2 separate regions of the Homo sapiens genome follow, and region 2 is linked to region 1. The links are contacts of gene promoters, found by promoter capture Hi-C in human tissues and cell types (Jung and others, 2019). All regions are on one chromosome and are shown on one strand. The core of a region is centred on a gene start or on the middle of the fragment in contact, and the rest is flanking DNA. Distances in the headings are between cores, read along the strand shown. Region 1 holds the start of IL33 (interleukin 33). Region 2 has its middle 63 kb from the start of IL33.

Region 1 (5,026 bases), core at 1,461-3,960:
TAACATTCTTTTCATTCTCAAAAATTTATGATTCAGATAACAAATTATACGATTACTAGAATAAAGTCTGTATGACCTAACCCTTAGTCGTCCTGCCTTCTAGAGCCATGCTTTCATCTTCATTCAACTAGCTACTTGAATAGCATGGAGTAACTTGTGGCAGTCCAATATTACCATTGAGTACAACCAGAAAGGCAGATCAGGAGAGAGCTGCTGAAGCACGAAGGATGAGGGGCTAAGATTCCATGGAGAGATTAGCTAACAGTAGTTAGCTACTTTTTAATAGTTACGAGAGCATTGGCCAAGGCAGGGAATCTGTATTTTACCAAGGTAGGAGGTCACTGCCAGGAGACAGAGAAATCACTGTTGATCGGTGTTGTGGGAATGAAGAGACAAAATTGGAAATTGGAAGGGCCAGGCCCCCAGCAAGAAGAGAGGGCTGGAGAACTGAACCTACATATAATGAGTTTCCTCTTCAAAACACTTGCCGAATTACGCAGCTGCATGGGGGCAAAGGCAAAAAAAAAAAAAAAAAAAAAAAAAATCAGCCTCTTAAAAGCAGAGCTGTGGTTTTAGCAGCCTTTTTGGTTTTGTTCTTGTTTCATAAAAAGTCAAGAGTTATAGTTCATGACTGCTGGGAGAAAATTGAATAATTTTTAGAAATTGTTTCATCCAGGCCAGACACAGTGGCTCACGCCTGTAATCCCAGCACTTTGGGAGGCCAAGGGGGGCAGATCACGAGGTCAGGAGATCGAGACCATCCTGGCTAACACAGTGAAACCCCGTCTCTACTACAAAATACAAAAAATTAGCCGGGCATGGTGGCGGGCGCCTGTAGTCCCAGCTACTCAGGAGGCTGAGGCAGGAGAATAGTGTGAACCTGGGAGGCGGAGCTTGAAGTGAGCTGAGATCACGCCACTGCACTCCAGCCTGGGCGACGGAGCGAGACTCCATCTCAAAATAAATAAATAAATAAATAAATAATTGTTTTATCCAAAAAAGAGCATAAGCCAGGGGGACAAAATAGCAGAGAAAAAAAGTAAGATAGTAGAAGCAAATTCAAATATATCAATAATTACAATAGATGTTCCAGTTCAAAGACAAATTATTGTCAAACTGGGAAAAAAAACCAGTATACTACTTATATGTGACACATCTTTAATGTAAGGACACAGAAAGTTTGAAAGAAAAAAGATGAAAAGAGATACACTATGTGAATACTAACCAAAAGAATGTTTGCAAAGCTCTGCTAATGGAGAAAGCAGACAAATGGACAAAGCAGACTTTAAGGCATGAAGCATAATTAGAGATAAAAAGAGAAATTTTTGAAATAATGAAGGAGGGTTCAATATACATAATAAAGATACATTATTCATCCTTTGTAATTTCCTCAGTATTTGCAAGAATTCCCAGAGTAGAGTATGCTAATATTCCCTTGGCTGTTACTTGTCACCCCTCCCTCCTATTTATTGCACACAGCTCAATTCCTGATTCATTCTTGTCATGTTGGCATCCTGTCCGCTTGCTTCACTGCTTTATCCAAAGGGCAGACATAGCCATCTTTCTTCATTACTCACAAATGCAACACTATGGCTTGTAGCAGATGATTGCTCAGGTTTGGGGATGATTAAAGGGGATTACTGCACAGAAAATGAAACAACTTTAAACAAGATAACAGAGTTCCTTAGTTGTTTTTTCCAAAGGGGACTCCATCATAGTCACATTTTCCCAAGCCTGGTCAGCCATCTGTTGCTGTCTCATTTTCTCTTTCCCCTGGATTCCAGAACCCTAACATTCTATCCTTCAACATGCCATGAGAAAAACTAAAAAATTCCTATTTCATTTTACAGTAAACTTTTTTCTGCTGCCCCTTTGTTTCAAGGTCACCCTTCTAATCTTGTAGATTGAATGGATGTAGAGGCTTGCTAGGGTAACAGTCCATCACAATATCCTTCTAAGTACAGCAGCAGTCTTCCTTCCAATGTGTGATCTTAGGATGTGGAATCAGTCCAAGTCTTAAAAGAGCATTACTTCATCCCTTTATTTTCTGCTACAGATGCCAAACGAGATGGAGAGAGGGTGAGTAGGAGCAAAATTTCTCATGAGGTAAGAAGAACAACTTCTCATGGGATCTATAGTACAGGATTTGCTTTTGTGATAAAGTATTATCTTCTGCGAGATTTTTGAGATGAATAGAAAGAAAAGATGAACAGTGGGGAGCAGGAAAGCCCGTCAGATATGTTGGAATACAGAGTATTTCAGAGCTTTTATTTGCAGACGAGCTGCTTATTACTGATAGGCCAAAGGGGGTCGCAAATTTCTATTATAAAGGAATTTGGAAGAATACACTGATCTCTTAATGAAGTTTGTAAATTAAGAAGCCAACGGCCAAAAGTGAATATATAAATGGCAACAGAATTTCAAAATGGACAGTGCTGAAGTTGAAGTTTAGGAGTTCAACTCCAAAGAGAGCCAAAACATAAAGTTTAGGGGCAGAAGAAGAATCATAATTGCTGGTTTAAAATATTCAGATGGAGGGAGGACGCAGAAAGTAGTGAGCCTTAGATGTTGACAGAATTGTAACTCTGTTGGCTCTTTACATGAGATTTCAAGCCTGCTAAAATCTCACCCGCCCAGATCTCCCTTCTAAGGCAATTTGGGTCTCTGCCAAACTTTGGCTAATAAAAAGAGTCTACAGACTCCTCCGAACACAGAGCTGCAGCTCTTCAGGGAAGAAATCAAAACAAGATCACAAGGTAAGACTGAATATTCTGGGAGATTTTTAGTCAGATTTTGCAAAGTTAAACCTTGGGAACCATGGAGAACTGTGTTTTTTTTTTTTTCCTGAAAAATAAATGATAAGGCCAATTTGTTATTATTGCTAATAGCAGTAAAAGTCAATGACAATAGCTGTTACTAACTTATAATTCCATTTGCTTTCCTTTGGGTGATTTGTAAAATTAATAAATTGCTGAAAGAGATTGTAATAGTTTTTATAGTAAATTCTGCCCCCTCCATGAAACTTTATTTTATTTTATTTTATGTTTTTTAAGAGATGGGATCTTGCTCTGTAGCGCAGGCTGGAGCACAGTGGCGTGATCCTAGCTCACTGCAGCCTCCAATTCCTGGGCTCAAGCAATCATCCCATCTCAGCTTCCCAAGCAGCTGGAACTACAGGCACACGCCACTATGCCTGGGTAATTTTTTTAGTTTATGTAGAGATAGGGTCTTTGCTTTGTTGCCAGGCTGGAAACTTTATAAAGCAAGTTGATAATTCTACTTCTAACTCCTAATGCTTACTCAAGACAAACATGCTTGCAATTGTTTACAAGTGGTTTTCAGTAAAAGGGGGACATCACTAAGTGTGGTGGTTCAAGCCTGTAATCCCAACACTTTGGGAGGCCGAGGTGGGTGAATCGCCTGAGGTCAGGAGTTTGCAGCCAGCCTGGCCAAGAGGATGAAACCCTGTCTCTACTAAAAATACAAAAACAAACAAACAAAACTAGCTGGGTGTGGTGGTGGGCACCTGTAATCCCAGCTACTCGGGAGGCTAAGGCAGGAGAATCGCTTGAACCCAGGAGGTGGAGGTTGCAGTGAGGCAAGATCATGCCATTACACTCCAGCCTGGGTAACAAGAGCTAAATGTCATCTCCAAAAAAAATGATGGAAACTTTGAATAAAAAATAGCTTCACAAAGAGGATTAGAGATGCACTAAATGAAGTAGTTTGGAATTGTTCTTTAGTTCTTTTTTCTTAATGGGACCTGACCCTGGACTTTAATCTCTGATCTGCACAGACAAAACCAATTCACTGAAACCATGGCATGGCAGTGAAGAGTTTAATTGACACAGGGCCAGCCAGCCATGCCACAGAGGATTCAAAGTTATTATTCAAATCTCCCCAAAAATTTGGAGGCTAGGGTTTTTCAAGGTTAGTTTGATGGGCAAAGGGCTTAGGGGAATAGGTGCTGCTGATTGGTTGGGAATAAAATCACAGGCATGTGAAAAATGGTCCTCGTGTATGCACTGAGTCTATTTCTGGGTGGGAGCCACAGAGTAGTCACTGGTCATCAGAAATGCAAAAGCCTGAACAGACATCTCTGAAGGTCAATCTTAGCTTATACAATAGTGATGTTATTTACAGTAGTCACTGGGGAAGTTGCAAATCTTGTGACCTCCAGAATCATGGCTAGTAATCATTTTACTATGCCTACATCTTAGCAGAATTCAGGACCCTCTCAAACTCCTAACTTGGTGGTCTTTCATTATTTTTACCAAGGTGGTTTACTTTTGGTGAAGGGTTATTATCATTTAAACCATACCCTAAATTTCTCCCAAAGTTAGCTTGGCCCAAGCCCAGGAATGACCAAAGGCAATATGGAAGTTAAAAGCATGATGGGGGTTGGTTATGTCAGATCTCCTTCACTGTCATAATTTTCTCACTGTTATTTCTCACTGTCAGTTTCAAATACAAGAATTGAGAGGTACCACCCCCTCAAAAATAAACTTTTGTGGAAAAACAAGGAATTGATACCCTAAGTGGAGAAATTCAAAAGCTCATCAGTTTTGCTACTATTCTTCATTTACAGACTTTCCTTTGAAGATTGTTTTCTTTTCTTTATTCCTTGCTTTCTGCCTCCTCACAATTTTCTCTGCCTTTTCTTTCCACACATGAATATATGCCTCCAGACTATTTTAATTAAGAAAATAGCACAAATCCAAAAGTATGTCCTGTGGCTGCATACAAGTCAGAGACTTGAGAGTGAAGTGTCTAGGGCAAAGACCCGTATTTCCTCCTCTGCACTGTGCTTCTCCCGCTGAAGCATCCTTCTGTGCCACACTGGGGTCCTATACTGTTTCCAACAGTCTTACTTATTGCTTCTCAAATTTGTCTTTTGAATACTTAATGCTCCTCTTTTGATTTCCACCCAGAAAATGTACCTCTCTGAGTTCAGAAAACTTCAGAATCCTCTATTTCCCAAAGTTTAGGGTGATTGAACTGAATCACACAGCTCGGTATTGTCTGA
Region 2 (4,934 bases), core at 1,620-4,119, 62 kb before region 1:
CTACATTGAAGAGGGTGATCTTGTTTACTCAACCGATTCAACTGCTAATCTCTTCTGGGAATATTCTGACAGGCACACACAAAAATAATGTTTTGCCAGCTATCTGGGCAACACTTAGCCTGGTCAAGGTGATGCATAAAATTAACCACAACTCAAATGTCCACCAACTGATAAATGGATAAATGAAATGTAGCCTATCCATACAATGGAATGTTATTCAGCTATTAAAAGGAATAGAGTACTGATATATGCTACAACATGAACAAACCTTGAAACAATGCTAAGTGAAAGAAGCCAGTCACAATCTCTATCTTTCTCTATCATCCGTGGCAATCATTCACTAAGTCTTCTCAATTCAACCTGTTTTAACATTTCCAAAAAATAACACTTCATATTCAAAATTCATTTGGTTGTGAGCAAAGGAAATTTACTCAGACCAACTTACACAGATATCCTTTTAGTAACAACTCCTGAGGTGTGTCTCTTCCTAAATTCCAAGGGTAAGAGAGTGCAGCCGAGTCTCATGAAAGACTGACCTGCTCTTACTATGATCATCAATGAACTTCCTATAGTCAAAACTAAAGGACTCTTTTCCATTCTTATCCTACTTGACCACCCCACAGAATTTGATACACTTTATTCTTTCTTGAATCATGCACACATGCTCTCTCTCTCTCTCTCAGAATGGGAAAAGTTGTTTTACACAAGAAGTTCCAATATAGGGTTTCTCCATGTATACATAATTCATTGGTTTAATAATGTCATCCATATTCCTTCCATGTTTTTATTCTACCATCCTCCTTTGGTCAGCTTTGTCCCTCAAAGTATCTCCCTTCACAGTCTCCAATAGCTCTGTTTTCTTTTAAATCTTAGGTCTTGCTTCTGGGGTCATTTTTGGGAGTTCCTGTAGCAGCTTGAAGCAGCCAGAATGAACAAAAAGGATCCTGTCCTCCAAATATTGGGGATCTGTATTTGGATTGCCAATCACTGCTTCTGATCACAGTGGTACAGACAAAGAAGTGAACAGCTATTGTTTCACCTCTACCCTTTTTGCAAGCCCCTCCCATCCATCTGAGATGACTTCCAGGGGATTCAAAGGACCAGGGCCATTTTTCCCCCTTAATATTTTTGATTCCCTTTTGGGAACCAGACGTTAAAGACTAGGACTTTCAGAAACAACTTCATAGAGGGGGAAATTAGAAAGTGACCATGCATACCCAGGGAAAGGCTCAGGCTCAGAAAAGACCTGAAAGGACCTTAAGTTTATATATATCAGACATACAACAATAAAAAAGAGTAAACAAAAACAATGACTAAATCTAGCAAACTCTGGAAAAGGAGAAGAACTTGATTTCCAGATTTACCACATTTTTAGATTCAAATGTCCAGTTTTCAATGTCAACCAAAAAAAAATCACAAGACATACAAAAAAAAAAAACAAAAACCAGGAAAGTATGGTCTATTCAAAGAAAAAAATAAATCAACAGAAACCATCCCTGAAAAAGATATGATGTCAGATATACTAGATGAAGACTTTTAAACAGATGTCTTAAAGATGCTCAATATTCTAAAGAAAGATGTGAAGAAAGACCAGAAAAAATATATGATACATGAACAAAATGGAAAAATCAATGATGATACAGAAAAACCTAAAAATAAACCAAAAAGAAAGCAAGGAGTGGAAAAATAAAACCAAGATAAAAAATTCACTACAAGGACTAAAAGACATACTTGAGCATCCAGAAGATAAAAATAGTGAAAGGTGAAGATAGAACAATGGAAATCACTGAGTCTGAGGAATAGAAAAAAGGCCGAAGAAAAATAAATAAAACCTAGATAAGCTGTAGGACACCATCATATACATTTTGGGAGTCTCTGAAGATTAGAGAGAGAGGCGGGTAGAGAGAATATTTTAAGAAATAATGGCTGAAAGCTTCACAAATGTGATGACAGACTTGAACATAAACATACAAGAACTCAACAAACTCCAAATAAGAAGAATTTAAAGAGACTCACCCAAAAACACATTATAATCAAACTTTTGAAAACCAAAGACAAAAACAGAATCTTGAAAGTGGCAAGAGAGAAGCAATTTGTCACTTACAAGAGATCCTCAATTAGAATATCATCAGATTTCTCATCAGAAACTTTGGAAAACAGAAGCCAGTGGGTTAATAAATTCAAAGTGCGAAAAGAAAAAGAAACCTGTCAATCAAGAATCTTTTATCTTGCAAAACTCTCCTTCAAAAGCGAGGAAGCAATTAAAATATTCCCAGATAAACAAAAGCTGAGTGAGTTCACTACTAAACCTGCCGTGCAAGAAATGCTTACGTCTTGCAAGGTGAAATGTAAGAACACTAGACAGTAACTCAAAGCTATATGAAGAAATAAAAATCTCAATGAAGGTAAATACATGGACAATTATAGAAGCTAGTATTATTGTAACAATGGTTTGTAACTCCATTTTTTGTTTTTTGCATGGTTTGAGATTCATACGTTAAAAACTATTAGTCTAAAAGCTAGTATTATTGTTAACTTTGGCTTGTAACTCCTATTGACAGAAATTAAGGCTGTTGAGGCAGAAATAATTTGATAAAGGTTTATTGGAAGCCAAATGTGAGGATCAACCTGGGAAGACACATCAGAAAGTTGGGAGTGTTCCAGAATCTGTTACAAGTTGGAAGGCTTTTATAAGTAAGTTTAGGAGAAGGGAGAGGGGCTCCTCATAGTGAAGTTGTCCTTTTTCATTGGAGGGTACAACACAAAGATTGGCTGCAAAGTATGACATACAGGGCAACATACAGGTTAAAATTCTATGCACAAGACAATCAGTGAAACTTCATGATTCAGAAACAAATCACCAAAACATTATGATTCAGAAACAAATCAGCAGCCTTTTTGATGTCAGTAGGTTATAAATTAATCATTATACGTCAATAATTTGAGAAACTCAGATAAGATTCTTTACTCATGAACAGGATGTTGCCATGAATCACAAGACTGCCCCAAGATAGGTTAATTTAAGAAGCCCTGTTTACTTTTAAAGTAAACTGCCAAATATGAACTGTAGGTTATCACCCCACATTTTATTTTCTACTTTTTTTTTTTTTTTTGAGATCGCATCTTGCGCTGTTGCCCAGGCTGGAGTGCAGTGGTGCAATCTCGGCTCACTGCAACCTCTGTCTCCTGGGTTCAAGAGATTCTCATGCCTCTGCCTCCCCAGTAGTTGAGATTACAGGTGCCCGTCACCATGCCCAGCTAATTTTTGTATTTTTAGTAGAGACAGGGTTTCACCTTGTTGGCCAGGCTGGTCTCAAACTCACGACCTCAGGTGATCCAACCACCTTGGGCTCCCAAAGTGCTGGGATTACAGGCATAAGCCACCATGTCTGGCCAATCTTCTAGATAATTTAAGAGACTAATGTATGTAAATAAATTATTACTTTATGTTTTGGGGCATGAAATATAAAAAGATGTAATTTTATGACATTAACAACGGAAAGAGGTGGGGACAGAATTGTAAAGAAACAGAGTTTTGTATGTTATTGAAGTTAAACTGGTATAAATTCAAATTAGAGTATTATAACTTTAGGATGTTAAGTGCAATCCCCATTAAACCATAAAGGAAATAGCTAAAGAATGTACACAAAAGGAAATGGAAAGAAATTTTAAAATTTCACTGCAAAAAATCAACTAAACATGAAAGAAGACAGTCAATAAATGCAGGAAATGAGAGGCAAATAAGCTATAAGCCATAAAAAACAAATAGCAAAATGAAAAAAATTAAGTTTCTCCTTATCAGTATATACTTTAAATGCAAATGGATTAAACTCTACCATCAAAAGACAGGGATTAGCAGAATGGATACATACATGGTCTGACTATTTACTGTTTACAAAAGACTTACTTTAGATCCAAAGATATAAACAGATTAAAAGTGGAAGCATGGAAAAAATATTCCATGCCAATAGTAACCAAAACACAGTAGGAGTGGGTATAATAATATCAGACAAAATAGACTTTTTTTTTTAACAGGGTCTCACCCTGTCACCCAGGTTGGAGTGCAGTGGCACAATCTTGGCTCACTGTAGCCTTGACCTCCTAGGCTCAAGCAATCCTCCTACCTCAGCCTCCCAAGTAGCTGAGACTACAGGTAAGCGTCACCATGCCCCGCTAACTTTTGTATTTTTTTGTAAAGATGGCATTTCACCATGTTGTCCAGGCTAGTCTAGAACTCCTGGGCTCAAGTGTTCCACCTGCTTCGGCCTCCCAAAATGCTAGGAGCACAGGCATGAGCCACTGCTCCCAGGCGAAATAAACTTACAGGGCTATAGTGGACAAAGAAGGACATTATATATTAATAAAAGACCCAACACAGCAAGAAGATATTCAATTATAAACATTTACCCATCTAAGGACAGACCATCAAAACACATAAAGCAAAAGCTTACAGAATGAAAGGGAAAAAGAGATAGTTCTATAACAATAGTTGGAGACTTCAATACCCAACTCGCAATAATGGTGAGAACAACCAGACAGAAAATAAGCAAGGAAACAGAAGACTTAAACAATGCAATAAACCAACCAGACTAACAGGTATATACACAATCCTCTCTCCAACAACTACAGTATACAAACTTTTCTCAAGTGCACATGGGACATTTTGCAGGATACATCATATGTTAGGCCACAAATTAAGTCTCAATAGATTTTTAAAAGATGGATATCATACAAAGTATCTTCTCTGACCAAATGACATAAAGTTAGAAATCAATAACCGAAGTGAAATGGAGAATGTATAAATTTGTGGAAATTAAACAACAAACTCTTAAACAACCAAAGTAAAAATCACAGGGGAAATTAGAAAATACTTATAGACAAATAAAAATGAAAACACAACATGCTAAATCTTATGGGACAAAGCAAAAGTAGTC

Evidence for each region. The method cuts DNA at HindIII sites, captures the fragments that hold promoters and counts their contacts. A contact is called where the count stands out against the background at its distance.
Region 2: a contact is called between a fragment that was not itself captured here and the fragment with the promoter of IL33 in region 1, in 1 of the 25 tissues and cell types used here (liver).

Annotation. Positions count from the first base shown.
Region 1 is chr9:6,213,097-6,218,122 of GRCh38, forward strand. It overlaps IL33 (interleukin 33), which reads left to right and starts at 2,711. Exons shown (of 8, transcript NM_033439.4): 1 at 2,711-2,756. The HindIII fragment of the contact is 11,056 bases long and covers 1-5,026 here.
Region 2 is chr9:6,150,703-6,155,636 of GRCh38, forward strand. No RefSeq gene overlaps it. Among named protein-coding and RNA genes, the nearest start is that of IL33, 63 kb to the right of the region's middle. RefSeq lists an enhancer at 1,984-3,183. The HindIII fragment of the contact is 5,106 bases long and covers 317-4,934 here.